2 separate regions of the Homo sapiens genome follow, and region 2 is linked to region 1. The links are contacts of gene promoters, found by promoter capture Hi-C in blood cells and fetal thymus (Javierre and others, 2016). All regions are on one chromosome and are shown on one strand. The core of a region is centred on a gene start or on the middle of the fragment in contact, and the rest is flanking DNA. Distances in the headings are between cores, read along the strand shown.

Evidence for each region. The method cuts DNA at HindIII sites, captures the fragments that hold promoters and counts their contacts. A CHiCAGO score of 5 or more calls a contact.
Region 2: a fragment that was not itself captured here is called in contact with the fragment with the promoter of LINC02910 in region 1 in 1 of 17 cell types (neutrophils); the score reaches 6.2 in neutrophils.

Annotation. Positions count from the first base shown.
Region 1 is chr20:60,054,393-60,057,369 of GRCh38, reverse strand. It overlaps LINC02910 (long intergenic non-protein coding RNA 2910), which reads right to left and starts at 1,445. Exons shown (of 4, transcript NR_161293.1): 1 at 1,362-1,445. The HindIII fragment of the contact is 13,245 bases long and covers 628-2,977 here.
Region 2 is chr20:60,234,789-60,237,765 of GRCh38, reverse strand. All of the region lies in intron 3 of MIR646HG (MIR646 host gene), which reads right to left. Among named protein-coding and RNA genes, the nearest start is that of MIR646, 72 kb to the left of the region's middle. The HindIII fragment of the contact is 2,176 bases long and covers 439-2,614 here.

The DNA.
Region 1 (2,977 bases), core at 196-2,695:
ACGTTACAAACGTTAACTTGCTAAACACTCAATGTGAAACCTAGGAGTAAGGGACAATTATCTTTACTATCTACAAACAAGGATGTTCAGGCACAGAGAGGCTCAGTACATTGTGCAAAGTCACACAGCTACAGAGTTGTGAAGCCGAGATTGGAACTCAAGCAATAAGGCACTTTGATGGCAGGCACCTTAATGGGGGGTGGGGGAACACCCTTTACCAACAACCATGCAAATGGCCCAGGTGCTCCTGTGACCCCTGATCCCAGGGGCTCCACCAGAGCACCAGAGAGAGAGGGATGTGGGAAGAGCAGAGGACAGAAGAGGACACGTGCATCTAACCACTCGGAGGACAGGAGAAGGCACCCTAACCTTCTGAGCTGCCATCTTCCAATCAGGAGGAGGGGAGCACTGGATACATAATCTCAAGGCTTTCCCTACAGTTCTCTCAACAGGACAGACAGGCAGGGGTGCACAGTGGTTAGAGCACAGGCTTTTTGGTCAGACAGAACTGGGTTAAAGATCAGACACGTCCACTCACTCTCAATGAGTCCATATCTGTAAGCCTAAGCTTCCGTCCTCACACATGTTGATAAAAGAAAAAGAAAAAAAAAGGCCAAGTGCAAAGCTTTTAGCATTGTTTCTGGTTCAGGGTATGGACTTAATACTGTTTTCTATCATTATAACCACACTAAAGGCTCTGAGAAGTCCTGCAGGAAGGAAAACTACTTGTCTTTATCTCAGCCATCCCCAAGCTAGCTGCCCACAGAGCCACCATGGAGCCCACAGCTCTGTCACCCCACAGGGCCCATGTGCCTGGCCCATTCATGTTCCCTCACACGGGAGCCTCAGGCCCCAGTGGAAACAGACTCAGGAGACAAACCCAGGCCTCCTGCTCCCAGCTCCCCACTCTGTCCTTCTGCTTCTACATCCAACTACCCCCAAAGCAGTTTCTACAATCCATAAACAAAAGAATTCAGAGACAATTCTCCAGGGCTCCCAAGACGACATATTTCATCTGTGGCTTCTACAGTGCTTATTTGTCAGTTTTACAGACCAGAGGCAATTAAGAGTCTAAGGCCGAGAAGGCTGTTTTTAATAATTCTGTCATTATTCTCAATTTTCAGCACCACCACACATGAAAAACCCATTTCCAATTCCCTTAAAGGTGTTAAATGGTTTTTGCACTGTGTTGCAAAAGTTTGCCGTCCGCCAAACTGCTACAAAGTGGGCTTGTAGCGTCCGGTCCTGAGCTGTGGGAACGACTTGGTCGGGGCTGATCCGCTGGAGCCCAGCTCTTTCCCCAAGCGTTCAATTCCCAGCACATGCCGCGTGGGTCACTGTGGATTTCAGGGTGGACTCACCGCGCTGCTGGGTGTTGCAGTCCACGCGATTTCACAAGACTCCATGCAGGACACCTCCACCCGGCCCAGGCTCAGGCAGGATATGAACAGGAAACCACTGTTTCCTGCCGATCAACACCCAGGAACTGATGAAGTAACCCAGTGCCCAGCCCCTCTGACAGCCACAGAGCCAAGAAGAGGGAAGTGAGGTGGCATCCAAGGCAGCCCCTGAAAGAACTAAGCAAGGCAAGTTCAAGGGGTTCAGGGCTCTGCAGCAGCTGATGGGGAGCAGGGAGGAGCATTCCGTTTTCAGGGCATTGAAAGTCCTTGAAAGGAGAAAATTTTATAAGGAATGACAAGGCCTGGATGCAGAAGGTGGGAGACCCCTGCCCTTGATAACCGTCATAGTTACCAATGACAACTATGATAAAGAGATGACTTTCTGTGGCTCCCACTTGCTGCCCTCTGTGGTTCCAGGCACATCACAGAGAACTCTTCATTTTCATGAGGCCCCATAAGGACATCCCTATTACTATGATCCTTATCAATATCCTGATGTTACAAATGAGGGAACCAGGACACAGAGACGCTGAGGAACTTGTCTGAAGTTACATGGTGGAGACATAGCCTGGGACGCAGCAGTGAGAGGGACAGACGAGCCCTGCCCCTGTGCACCAAGCCATCTGCTGGGGACGCAGAAATCAAACAGCTCGTGGCTGCCCTTGTGCCCAGCGCTGTGGGCATGAGCGAGCTGCTTTGAAGAGACAGCGTGGTGACCTGCCCTGCTGGCCCAGGCAGCATCACACGGCAAGAAGGCGGGCTTTGAAGGGTTTTAAACAGAGTCGTGTTCCCACGTCTGCAGTGAGAGGGCTGCAAGCCTTTGTGTTTTTCACACGGTGTTACACAGCGTTGGGGTCCACGGACCTGCCTCGGAAGCTGCTCATGGGCAAATGGACGACCACGGGTGGGGAAGGAAATTTCCCCCAAACACACACATGCTTCACCCAGAGCAGCCAAGCTGTTTGTGTGTTTGTGTGTATTCACGTGTGTATGTGTGTGTGTGTGTCTTATGCCTAATGGTTCATTGAGTTTAAGGATCTCTCAGCTCCCTTGCAGCACAAATGTTTCATAATTTGGTGGTTAGCGCGCAGTGACCAGGCAATACAGGTTCATCAAAATGCACCAATGAGACAGAGACAGGAGAGGATGTTTTGGCAGCAGACAGACATCCAGGAGGCCTAGCACACCCCCATCCCCCGGCCCCAACCTCAGAGAGATAATCAGGGGAGCAAAGGGCATTAGTATGAAACGACCAAAGAGACTTAGCGAGCAACGTCAGACTCCCTGCAACACGCGTGCTGATGGGACAGAGGGGGAGTTATTTTTATACTTCAGAAATAACCAAGCATTCTGCATGCCCAAAGCCAGTTTGGGTTTTAAATACCTTTCATAATTTTTCTGACTATGGAGGTAATACATCCTCAGGGCATAAAATTTAGAAATTATAGAAGAGTATTTTTAAAAATCCAACCATTGAGCAATAACCATTATAAAAATCTTACTGTTTTCCTTTCTTGTCATTTATCTAGGCTCATACAGATATTTGGGGCTTTTTTCACAAAACTAGGAAAATGTTA
Region 2 (2,977 bases), core at 277-2,776, 180 kb before region 1:
GAGGCTGGAGTCAAGAACTGGCAGCCCCCGGGAACTGGTGGAGATAGGGGGAGGGCATCAGGTTTCTTATCTGTTCTTGAGATAATTTTGTCAAGAACTCAAGAGGCGGGGTGACCCCATCTGATATTTAGGTTCCCACTCCCTGCTGAGCAGAACCCATCATGCCAGTCCACTCAGGTTGGGCTGTTCTTGGGTAGTGTCCATCCCAGATCTCATAGGCACTCCTCACCAGGCACACAAGATACCCACGCTGTTCCTTACACCTGGTCTTTTAGGAAGTGCTCTACCAGCTGCAAGACAATGGCTATGAGGGGCACCATGACCATTTTATTTGGTACAAATGCACCTGGACAGCATGCAATGAAAAGAAACAGAGTTCCTGCTGCAGTGCTTGAGGAGCAGAGCTGAGCATGATAGAATTTCCCCAGAGCTAAAGCTTTCATTTTTCCTGTTCATCCGAACTTGAGTTGAAGATTTACCAAGAAAGAAGACACTTACCAAGGTTAAAATGACTTGGTAAGTTAAAATATTCATTCAGTATTCTGAGCCCTTTCATATGACTCCTAATCTTCACAATAATCCTGTAATATACCAACTTGATTTTGTAATTGAATTTATCAAAATTTATAAATTTTATAAAATAAGGCCCAAAAAGAATGACTGCCTAGCTCAAGCTATATATCTTATGGTGGAAGACCCAGGGTTTGAACCCAAAGAGCCTGAATTTTAAGTACTTTCTAAAGCACCACAAAAATGCATTAATTTTGGATAGTTTCTAAAACTAACTTCAGTGGATTCATGTCTATTTAAGTTACAACTGTGTATATAATTGCATAAACTTTCCAACACAAATAAATCTAAGCATGCCAGGCTTTGCAGGGAAACATCCAGCCTTGAAGAAAGCATATTTCATTATACAAGTAGTCATACTGTAAGTGGTATGAGGAAAGCAGAAAGACCATCTCAGTCAACACTCTGCAACCGGAATTCCCCTGACATCTCTGTACTAAACCAGAAATTCTCTAAAGCCATAAATGAGTTAACTAAACTACAGATCAAGTATCTAAATACAAAAGCATTAGAACATCAGAGAGCAATACCATACAGGTAGATATCTGCTTACTTATTCCTGATGCTGTGACAGCATTTATGTCTATTTTTCATTGAAGGAGCTTTTTTCATAGATAACTCAATACAAATTATTTGAAAGAAAATGTATTTTGTTATTACTTGGAATAGAAAAAGGCAATCATGTTGGAATGGAATGCAGATAAAAAATGAGATCACATAATAAAAGATACAGAATTTGGCAATTTAAGCAGAGCCATTCAAAGGTAGGTGATTCATGAATAAGCTGAAAAAATGGTTTGACTAATGTTTTTGAACTACCTACTATGCACTGGGAAAATGCTATATTATCCTTCAGTTTAACTGATAATGCAATGCTATAATTTGTAAAGGAAAATATTTATTTTGTAGGAAAGTCCCTACAGAGGACATTGAAGTGGGAAGAGCTCACAGGTGCTAATTCTCCTGAGGCTGGCACACCTTTCTTTTCACCTATACCATCCAGGCAGAAGAGATGCTCCCTCTCTGAGTGCCCTCTGTGTTTGTGGGGAGGGGCATGTGCCAGAGTTCTGGCCAATGAGATGTTAAGTGAAGTCTTCTAGGTATTGGGTCCTGGGATAGAGATGGCTGGCACAGATCTTCCCTTATTCTTACTGCCTTGAATGTCAATATGATGTCTGGAACTGGAGCAGCCATTTTATTACCACGAGGAAGAGATTTGCAAAGATGTTGACTCTTATATTGTTGATCTACTAAACCAATGCCAAGAACTGACTATGTTCAGATTTCTTGTCATTTTAGAGAAATAAGCCTTTAATTATTTAAGATACATTGAGCACAGCTTTGTTTTTGTTGTTGTTGTTGTTTGTTTGTTTAGCCAAAACATTCTTAACTGTGTGTCCCTTGTATTATGTGAAGGGGATACAATGGATATTTATTCTTCTTTATACTGATAACTACAGATAAACAGAAGTTTAGGTGTTTTCTTAACACTTAAAGGTAACTATTCATGGCCATAAAAATGGACATATGTCTTCAAGATTACTAAGAAATGATTAAAGGCAATATAATCCATACAGCAAAGAAAAAAAGAGGCATAAATACAGAATACGGAAATAGAATGACAAGAAGAAGATCAAGTATATCATATCCATTGCAACAAAAATGTAAATGTGTTAAACTTTCTATCAAATGATAAAATATCTCCTACAGGTACATATATATCCAATTATATATGTCTAAAAGACACTCCAGCATAAAGTGATAAAGAAAAGTTAAAGATAAAAGGAATACTGACAGAAGTACTTATATAACTAGAATAATGCATCTTATTAGAGGTTACATGGGAAAATCCTGTCATCACCTTCTACATGGATGTAGGCATAGAAAGGCATCTGATAATATTCAACATTCTTTTCTGACACATTTTCCTAATAAACTCAAATCAGAAGAAAGTTGCTGTCATGGTAAAGACTATCTATCTTTAGGCAGTACCACTTGAAGCATACCATTATTGTCTATATAAAGGTAAGAATCCCCATAAGCTTTGTATTTGTCATTGTTCTATCAAAAGTAATTAAGCATCCTAAAATGATCTGTTAGAAAAATAGAGATGATGATTATTACTACCATACAGAAAAAAGTCTACCTGGAAAACAGAAGAGCTACTGAGATACGTAACAAGGGCTCATTAAATCACCTATTAATAAATAGAAAATCAATGCGTGTCTTTACCCACAATAACCAGTTAAAAAAATAAAATAAAGATTCCAGGGATAATGGCCACAAAAACGTAACATACCTCAGGCTAATCTCAAAAAGAAACGTACAGGACTTCATAAAAATATTATAGCACTGTACTGAGAAATATAAAAGACAATGAAGAAATGGAGAGGGCATCATAGTCTTA